Linked DNA regions of Homo sapiens: regions 2 and 3 are each linked to region 1. The links are contacts of gene promoters, found by promoter capture Hi-C in blood cells and fetal thymus (Javierre and others, 2016). All regions are on one chromosome and are shown on one strand. The core of a region is centred on a gene start or on the middle of the fragment in contact, and the rest is flanking DNA. Distances in the headings are between cores, read along the strand shown. Region 1 holds the start of THEM6 (thioesterase superfamily member 6). Region 2 has its middle 6.1 kb from the start of ZFP41. Region 3 overlaps ZFP41 (ZFP41 zinc finger protein).

Region 1 (2,803 bases), core at 304-2,803:
TCAGAGCCCAGCTACGACAAGGTGACACTTCAGGGACAAGTGTGAGCAATGCTAGGGTGTTGGGAATAGGCCCCCAAAATCTGGCCATAAACAAAATCTCTGCAGCACTGTAACATGTTCATGATGGCCATGATGCCCACGCTGGGAGGTTGTGGGTTTACCGGAATAAGGGCAAGGAACACCTGGCCCACCCAGGGCAGAAAACCGCTTAAAGGCGTTCTTAAACCACAAACAATAGCATGAGCCATCTGTGACTTAAGGACATGCCCCTGCTGCAGATAACTAGCCAAACCCACCCCTTTATTTTGGCCCATCCCTTTGTTTCCCTAAGGGGTACTTTTAATCTATAATCTGTAGAAACTGTGCTTATCACTGGCTTGCTGTGAATAAACACGTGGGTAAATCTCTGTTGGAGGCTCTCAGCTCTGAAGGCTGTGAGACGCCTGATTTCCCACTCCACACCTCTATATTTCTGTGTGTATCTTTAATTCCTCTAGCACCGCTGGGTTAGGGTCTCCAGGACCGAGCTGGTCTCGGCACTGGGGGAGCTGCCCTGATAGGTAGTGAGCTCCCTGTCCCTGGGGCTATCAAGCAGAGCCAGGTGCCGCCCCAGGGAGCTCCTTCTTTGAGGGCGGTCCAGAACCCTGGAACCCCAGCCCAGGCCCAGGCCTGAATCCGGAGCTTGTTTAACCCAGCAATTCCGGGACCCCATCCCCGGTCGCTGGCATCCGCTGTCATTCGAGAGCCTGGGGCTGACGGGGAGAGCTGGTCCGGCCTTCTCTGGGCCGCCTTTCCTCCCCAGCCTCGTCAGGAAGGGGCACAGGACAGCCGAGCTGTGCGACAGCCCGCTGGGCCTGCGCCCCAGGGCCTCCGGCGACACTTGGAGTCCGCAGCTGAGTCACTGACTCTCACCCGGGCTCCCCCGCTTCCGCCCGGCCGTGATTTGCTCCGGTTTCAAAAGGGAGGAAGGGCGGGAATGCTCGGGAAGAGCCTGGGGTTGGCAGGACCTTTAGGGGGTGGAATGAATGTCGTGAGGGCGAGTAAGGAGGTACCGGCTGGGGCTGAAAATGCGCACGGGGACCATGAGCGTGATTCGCCCTGAGCCGCTGCGAACGCCCTGCGAGCTGGGGTGGCCCTGGAGGTCCTGGAGCAGAAGCTAGGTTCCCGCAGAGTCCGCTGCAGCGCCGCTGGCGATCGGGCTGGGTCCCATTTTCCACGAAAAGTCCCGCGGCTTCGGCCGCGGAGGTGCTGGAGCCTTTGCGCTCAGACGAAGGGCCGAACGGCCAGGGCCAGGCCGCGTCTTCAGAGCCTGGCGAGGGTCTCGCGCTGCTGGGAAGGCGGAGACGCCGGGGCGCGCGTGCACCCTCGCGCCTGCAGCGCCGCGCACGGCCGCCAGGTGCCGCTGTGGCGCTCAGCGCGCCGCCCGCCCCGCCCCAGGGAACGCGAAAGTGGCGCGGGCCTGGACGGCGGGACGGACCACGTAGGGCGCTGAGAAGGTCGCGCCACGGTGGGCGGGGCTCCGGGCCCCTCCCCCTCGGCCGCCCTCGCGCTGTGGTTCGCTCCGGGCGCGCTGCGCTCGTGAGTTCCCAGGAGGCCTGGCGGGCACCGTAACCAGCGCCGCGGACACCGGCACCGGCGCCACGGACTCCGCAGGACCCCGCGCCCGCCGCCGCCGCTATGCTGGGGCTGCTGGTGGCGTTGCTGGCCCTGGGGCTCGCTGTCTTTGCGCTGCTGGACGTCTGGTACCTGGTGCGCCTTCCGTGCGCCGTGCTGCGCGCGCGCCTGCTGCAGCCGCGCGTCCGTGACCTGCTAGCTGAGCAGCGCTTCCCGGGCCGCGTGCTGCCCTCGGACTTGGACCTGCTGCTGCACATGAACAACGCGCGCTACCTGCGCGAGGCCGACTTTGCGCGCGTCGCGCACCTGACCCGCTGCGGGGTGCTCGGGGCGCTGAGGGAGTTGCGGGCGCACACGGTGCTGGCGGCCTCGTGCGCGCGCCACCGCCGCTCGCTGCGCCTGCTGGAGCCCTTCGAGGTGCGCACCCGCCTGCTGGGCTGGGACGACCGCGCGTTCTACCTGGAGGCGCGCTTTGTCAGCCTGCGGGACGGCTTCGTGTGCGCGCTGCTGCGCTTCCGGCAGCACCTGCTGGGCACCTCACCCGAGCGCGTCGTGCAGCACCTGTGCCAGCGCAGGGTGAGCGGCCCCCGCCCCTGGCCCCGGAGCACGGCCTTTGTGGGACCTCCGGGGGCTCCTCCTAGTCCCTGGCCCCCTCCCCTAGGGAAGGCCCGCTGCCTGCACCTCTTTCGGATACTGCTGGAGTCCTGCCTCTTACCGCTCCCGCCCCTCCCTCTCTACCGGGGGCATTCCTCACTGATGCCTTTGTTCGTGGGGGTTCCTAGGGTCCCCGAATCAACTCTTCATAGTCGGGCTTAGCGTGCTTCCCTCCTGCCATTTCTTAACCTGGCCCCTCACGGTTTCGTGTTCACCCCTCTCCTCTCTCCTGGTACTCTGTTCTGTGGCTGGAGTGTTGACCTCTCTGGTCCTTGGTCCTGAATATAGGTTGGAGAGGTGATCAGTTAGAAGAGGTTCCTAGGAGTTCCCGAGGACCTGAGCCCCCCTTTCACACAGCTTAGAGCTGAAGGGCTGGGTTCTGGTCACCTGGGTTTGGGGTTGAGGTATTGAGCCGAGTAGCTGAAAGCCTTCTGGCCTTTCTGCAGTTGGAGAGAGGAGGGCCATGCACCTCCCAGGGCTCGCTCCTCCCAGCAGGGCAGAACCGCCCCTGCAGCATGGCACCTGGGGCCCTGGG
Region 2 (2,700 bases), core at 196-2,695, 510 kb after region 1:
TCTGTGGGCTCTGTTCCTCTGATGCAACCCTGACGGATCCATTAGTATGACTGGAATGTCCTTGGGATCAAAACTCACTTTTTTTTCTTCTTTAGACAGAGTCTTGCTCTATCGCCCAGGCTGGAGTACAGTGGCACATTCTCAGCTCACTGCAACCTCGGCCTCCTGGGTTCAAGCGATTCTCCTGCCTCAGCCTCCCAAGTAGCTGGGATTAGAGGTGCCCGCCACCATGTCCGGCTAATTTTTTTTGTATTTTTAGTAGAGACGGGGTTTCGCCGTGTTGGTCAGGCTGGTCTCAAACTCCTGACCTCATCATCCACCTGCCTTGGCCTCCCAAAGTGCTGGGATTACAGGCGTGAGCCACCGCGCCCGACCGGAATCAAAACTTTCTAACTTCTAAAAGTTAGATTCTGGCTTCTAAAAGTGTGGCGCTGTTTTAGGATGGTTTTAGGATGGCTCAGTCCATCCAGTGGGAAGATTCTTTAAGCCCCTTGAACGTTTGGGCTGGAGAGAGAGTGAAATGAGGGCAGAGGTGCTGATTGGCCCCACACCAGTCACTGACAATGGCAGCTCCCGAGACGGCCATGGGTGCAGCCAGTGGGCACATTGCCCCCATTTTAAAATAACTTATAAATTACAAGCCAAGTTTAGCAAGTGGGTACTGCACTAAGGGCTTTGTGAGGACTTTTCACGTAGCCTTCACAATGACCCCACAGGGCAGGTGCTATCATCTTGCCCCATTTGACAGGAAATCTACTGACCATCCCAAGGCACACAGCCAGCAGTGGTGCTGATGTCCAGGCCCAGTGCTTTGACACTGTCGAGTTTCTTAAACCCTCTGAGCCTTCATTGTTTTATCTGCAAAGTGGAGACACCACCAGCAGTGAGTCAAGCACGAAACTAGGTGATTGATGCCTGTGCCCAGGATGCCGGGAGGATCTCAGCCACAGCTGTTGCCTGTGCCAGCCGCTGCGGAGAAGGATGCCACAGGCACAGGGCACCAGGGCGATGGGCTCTCCAGGGGCAGTGTCAGTGGCTCAGTCACCCACTGAGGCTGGTATCCCAGGCTCAATGCCCACAGGGGTTCCAGTGCAAGTCCTGGGCCCCAGGAGGACCCGCACCCCAGGGCTCATCAGTCAGCCAGTCAATCAGTCCACAGGCACTAGCTGAGCGCCCGCTGTCTGTGAAGCACCCTGGTGGAGCTGACGCTCTTATCCTTGGGCAGTAAAGAAGCGAACACTGCGGTTCAGGAGTTCAGCACAGCAGTCCTGGGGTCACTGCTAAGGTTCTCGTAGCCGCATTAAAAAGGGAAAAAGAAGCAAACGCAGGCCAGGCGCGGTGGCTCACGCCTGTAATCCCAGCACTTTGGGAGGCCGAGGTGGGTGGATCACCTGAGATTGGGAGTTCAAGACCAGCCTGACCAACATGGAGAAACCCCGTCTCTACTAAAAACACAAAATTATCTGGATGTGGTGGTGCGTGCCCGTAATCACAGCTACTTGGGAGGCTGAAGCAGGAGAATCTTTTGAACCCGGGAGGCGGAGGTTGCGGTGAGCCGAGATTGCACCACTGGACTCCAGCCTGGCGGACAAGAGCGAAAATCTGTCTCAAAAAAAAAAAAAGAAAAGAAAAGAAAACACAAAATCCCAGTGAGCTCTCTCTCCAGTGTCCTGCACAGACCTTCACAAAGTAAGGGCCACCCAGGAAAACTGCACAGAAGAGAGAAAAGGAACTGGCTGTGGGCCTGAGGTTGCTCTCAAAACATTTTCCAGAAAAAGAAAGTCCATCTGAGTGCCAAAATACAGAAAAGTGTCTACATTTTGGAAAGAAATTTAAAATGACTATGGAACAGGTGCAGCGGCTCACGACTGTAATCCCAACACTCTGGGAAGCTGAGGTGGGAGGACTGCTGGAGCCCAGGAGTTTTAGACCAGCTGAGGCAACAGAGTGAGACTTGGTAGCCAAAATAGTAAAAGACTGTGGGACACAGGAGGATAGTCTTGGGAAGGTAACGCAGGAGAGAAGAGGGTTAAAAGTTAGGGAGGAGTAGTCGGGTGCAGTGGCTCACCCCTGTAATCCCAGCAATTTGGAAGGCCAAGGTGGGTGGATCACCTGAGGTCACGAGTTCAAGACCAGCCTGGCCAACATGGTGAAAACCTGTCTCTACTAAAAATACAAAAAATTAGCTGGGCGTGGTAGTGGGTGCCTGTAATCCGAGCTACTCGGCAGGCTGAGGCAGGTGAATCACTTGAACCCAGGAGGCGGAGGTTGCAGTGAGCCCAGATTGTGCCATTGCACTCCAGCCTGGGCAACAAGAGTGAAACTCCGTCTCAAAAAAAAAAAAAGTTAGGGAGGTGCAGCCTTTGAAAGTCAGGTACTAAAGAGAAAAAGAAGCAAGAAGGGGAAATTAAGATGCTGAAAGACAAAAGACCTTTTTAAAAAGTCAAACATCGACCAGGCACAGTGGCTCACACCTGTAACCCAAGCACTTTGGGAGGCAGGGGCAGGCAGATCACGAGGTCAGGAGATCAAGACCATCCTGGCCAACATGGTGAAACCCCATCTCTACAAAAAATACAGAAATTAGCCGGGCACAGTAGTGCACGCCTGTAGTCCCAGCTACTTGGGAGGCTGAGGCAGGAGAATTCCTTGAACCCTGGAGGTGGAGACTACAGTGAGCCGAGATCACGCTGCTGCAGT
Region 3 (2,700 bases), core at 87-2,586, 540 kb after region 1:
CCCAGCCTGCCCGACACACTCACTGCGACGCCTCCCTTGCCTACTGCTTGCTGGCTTCTGTGTTCTCTGCAGTAAACATTGATTTCTGACTCGAGTGCTGTCTTCATTGAGCTCTCTGCACTCTGGGGATGCAGTCAGCGACCCCACGAAGGCTACCGGCTTCCTCCCAGGGAACAGTGCAGGTGCTGCTTCCCAGGACCACAGGACCCTGGCTGGTCGCTGCCTGTGATGGGTCTCCACAAGACCACTCCCCATTAGCCAGACTCACAGGAGACTGACACATAAATGAGAAAGTTGTTCACTAACTCACAATGGGAGCAACCCTTTGCAGTGCGGAAATGCTCTCAGCCTTTCTGGCCCCGGATACCTGGGAAGCTAAGGGTTCATTAGGTGGCCTAGTGCCTGCACTCAGGATGCCCCAGAGGAGGCCCCGGGGTTCCTGAACGCCTTCTTCAGGCCCTGTCTTCAGCCCTTCTCCAGGCCCTCTGAGTTCCAAACAGCACTCACTTTTGTCTGGTCCTCTGTTCCCCGGCTCGCACCTCCTTCGTCAGGGCAGTTGCTCTCAACCAGGGGTACTTCTGCCCCTGGGGCCCACTCGGCAATGTCCGGGACCGTGTTGGCGGTCACAGCTGGGCGGGGGCACCACCGGAATCTGGTGTGCAGAGGCGGGGGTCCTGCCCAGATGCCAGAGGTGCTGCAGGTGAGAGATACAGATTTAGACCCTGTGACGACAAAGAAAAGGACGGGAAAGGTGGCTCTCAAGGCCCCAGGGAACCGCCCAGAGACGCCTGGGGTTCCAGAAGCTGGAAAGGCATGGAGCGGTGCGGGAACAAGCCTCTGCGGTGGCTGGAGATGTGGGGATGGAGACTGGTCATGCCTTCACACACTTAACCAGAACCCTCCCAGCTCTCCCTCCCCTGCAACCAAGCCAGCAAGGCGACACGGTGGCTGGCGCTGGCGAGAGGCAAGTGTGCTTGACTGCCTTTCTCCACTCTTGAGGACAACACCCAGAGTGGCCCCGTCTTTGCCCCACCAGCCCAGGCCTAAAGCTTCCTCATCATCCGCATCCCGGCCTGGGACTTAGGCGGACTTCTGCCAGCTGTGTCACGTGCAGGGGACTGCAGCCACTGACCCCCTCTCCCTTCTGTCCTGCTCTTCTCTACCCCACAGCCCCAGGCAGATCTTCAGTGCATGTCAGCTCTCCTCCCTCCCTCCCTGCAGACCCCTGTGCCCCGCAGTGCCCTGAGAATGACGTCTGAGCCCCCAGTGGAGGTGTCAAGGCTGTTCGGTCTGTCCCCATCCCGTTCTGTCCTCCCCTTGCTCACCACACTCCCCTGCCTGGTCTTCCAAACTCGAACCCCAGGCAACTCCTTCAGGCATCAGACCTCTGCCCCTGCGCCCCTCCTGCCTCTCTGTGATGGGCTGGCCCTTCCCTTCTGCTGCCTCCCCTCCCTCCTTCCTGCTCCAACCCCTATCTCTCTCTGATGCTGCCCCTTAGAGAAGCCTTCTTGGACCTTAAGCCTGGCCACTCCTCTAAGCCCCTCATCTCCAGGTGTGGTCTAGGAAGTGCTCTCAGCCTCTCTACTCCAGTGGCTCGGGGTCTCTGACCAGCCCTCCTGCCAGGGAAGCTTTGAAGGTTCCCACAGGGACCCCTAGAGACAAGGGCACTGCCCGTCCAGATGGCACCCTCACCCCAACCCCAGCAGCACTGGCTGGAGCAGGCCATGCCTGTGTGGGTATCTGAACAGGCACTGGATTCCCCGATCTCAACAAAAGAAGCCCATGGAGGCCTTTTCTAATCCACAGTCCAAGAGGACAAATCAAGACAACAGGCTGGGGGGGCTGGCTGTGGGCCGACTCCCACGTCTTAGGACCAGGGGCTCTGGGGCTGTTTGGGCTGGAACCCCTCCTCCCAGCATAACAAACACTAGCTCATTATTTACAGTGAATACCCAACAAAACCCTGCTCGAGGTGAGGAGCGGGGACCTGCTGCTCCAACAGACCAGACTGGCTGCTGGCTCCGAGCTCATTAAATCAGCAACCTTTGCACTCCCTCCAAAGCCCTGCCCGTCACCTTCACACCTCCCTGGTGGGGGAAGGGGATTCTTCCACTCTGATTACACCCGTTCCCATCTCCCTTCACTCCTGTGAGCTGGCCAGGCTGAGGATTTGTCCAAAGGGCCTGGGGAGTGAGACGCTCCACAGCTTCTCATGGGTCAGCCGACATGGACGGTAGCTTGGGTGACTCAGCTTCCCGTGATGCGCTGGATGCACAGGGAGCTGGTGACAACAGCCTGTGTGTGTGACAGAACAGCCTGTGCGTGTGACAGGACGTCAAGAACTACATACAAAGACACAGCTGCCCCCAAAAATGAGTCTGCACAGCCTGGTGCAATGCAGCTGCAGCCTGTCATCGAGTCAATTGCATTGTCGTCCGCCGCTCTCCTGATGTAGTTCTGTGTTTGTCCATTTTGCACTGCTATAAAGGAATACCTGAGACTGGGTAAGTTGGTGAGCGCCTGTAGTCCCAGCTACTCAGGACGGTGAGGCAGGAGAATAGCATGAATCCGGGAGGCGGAGCTTGCAGTGAGCCAAGATCGCGCCACTGCACTCCAGCCTGGGCCACAGAGCGAGACTCCGTCTCAAAAAAAAAAAAAAGAAAAGAAAAAAGAGGAGCTGGGCGCAGTGGCTCACGCCTG

What was found. Contacts are between HindIII fragments. The CHiCAGO score rates a contact against its expected background, and 5 or more counts as called.
Region 2: a fragment that was not itself captured here is called in contact with the fragment with the promoter of THEM6 in region 1 in 1 of 17 cell types (neutrophils); the score reaches 5.8 in neutrophils.
Region 3: a fragment that was not itself captured here is called in contact with the fragment with the promoter of THEM6 in region 1 in 1 of 17 cell types (neutrophils); the score reaches 9.2 in neutrophils.

The regions. Positions count from the first base shown.
Region 1 is chr8:142,725,670-142,728,472 of GRCh38, forward strand. It overlaps THEM6 (thioesterase superfamily member 6), which reads left to right and starts at 1,554. Exons shown (of 2, transcript NM_016647.3): 1 at 1,554-2,190. The coding sequence starts at 1,678. LNCOC1 (lncRNA associated with ovarian cancer 1) reads right to left here and starts at 1,304. Exons shown (of 3, transcript NR_038925.1): 1 at 1,053-1,304. RefSeq lists an enhancer at 1,060-1,279 and silencers at 1,310-1,749, 2,050-2,299. The HindIII fragment of the contact is 9,584 bases long and covers 1-2,803 here.
Region 2 is chr8:143,239,509-143,242,208 of GRCh38, forward strand. No RefSeq gene overlaps it. Among named protein-coding and RNA genes, the nearest start is that of ZFP41, 6.1 kb to the right of the region's middle. The HindIII fragment of the contact is 4,207 bases long and covers 1-2,700 here.
Region 3 is chr8:143,262,612-143,265,311 of GRCh38, forward strand. It overlaps ZFP41 (ZFP41 zinc finger protein), which reads left to right. Exons shown (of 3, transcript NM_173832.6): 3 at 1-94. Among named protein-coding and RNA genes, the nearest start is that of GLI4, 3.5 kb to the right of the region's middle. The HindIII fragment of the contact is 579 bases long and covers 1,048-1,626 here.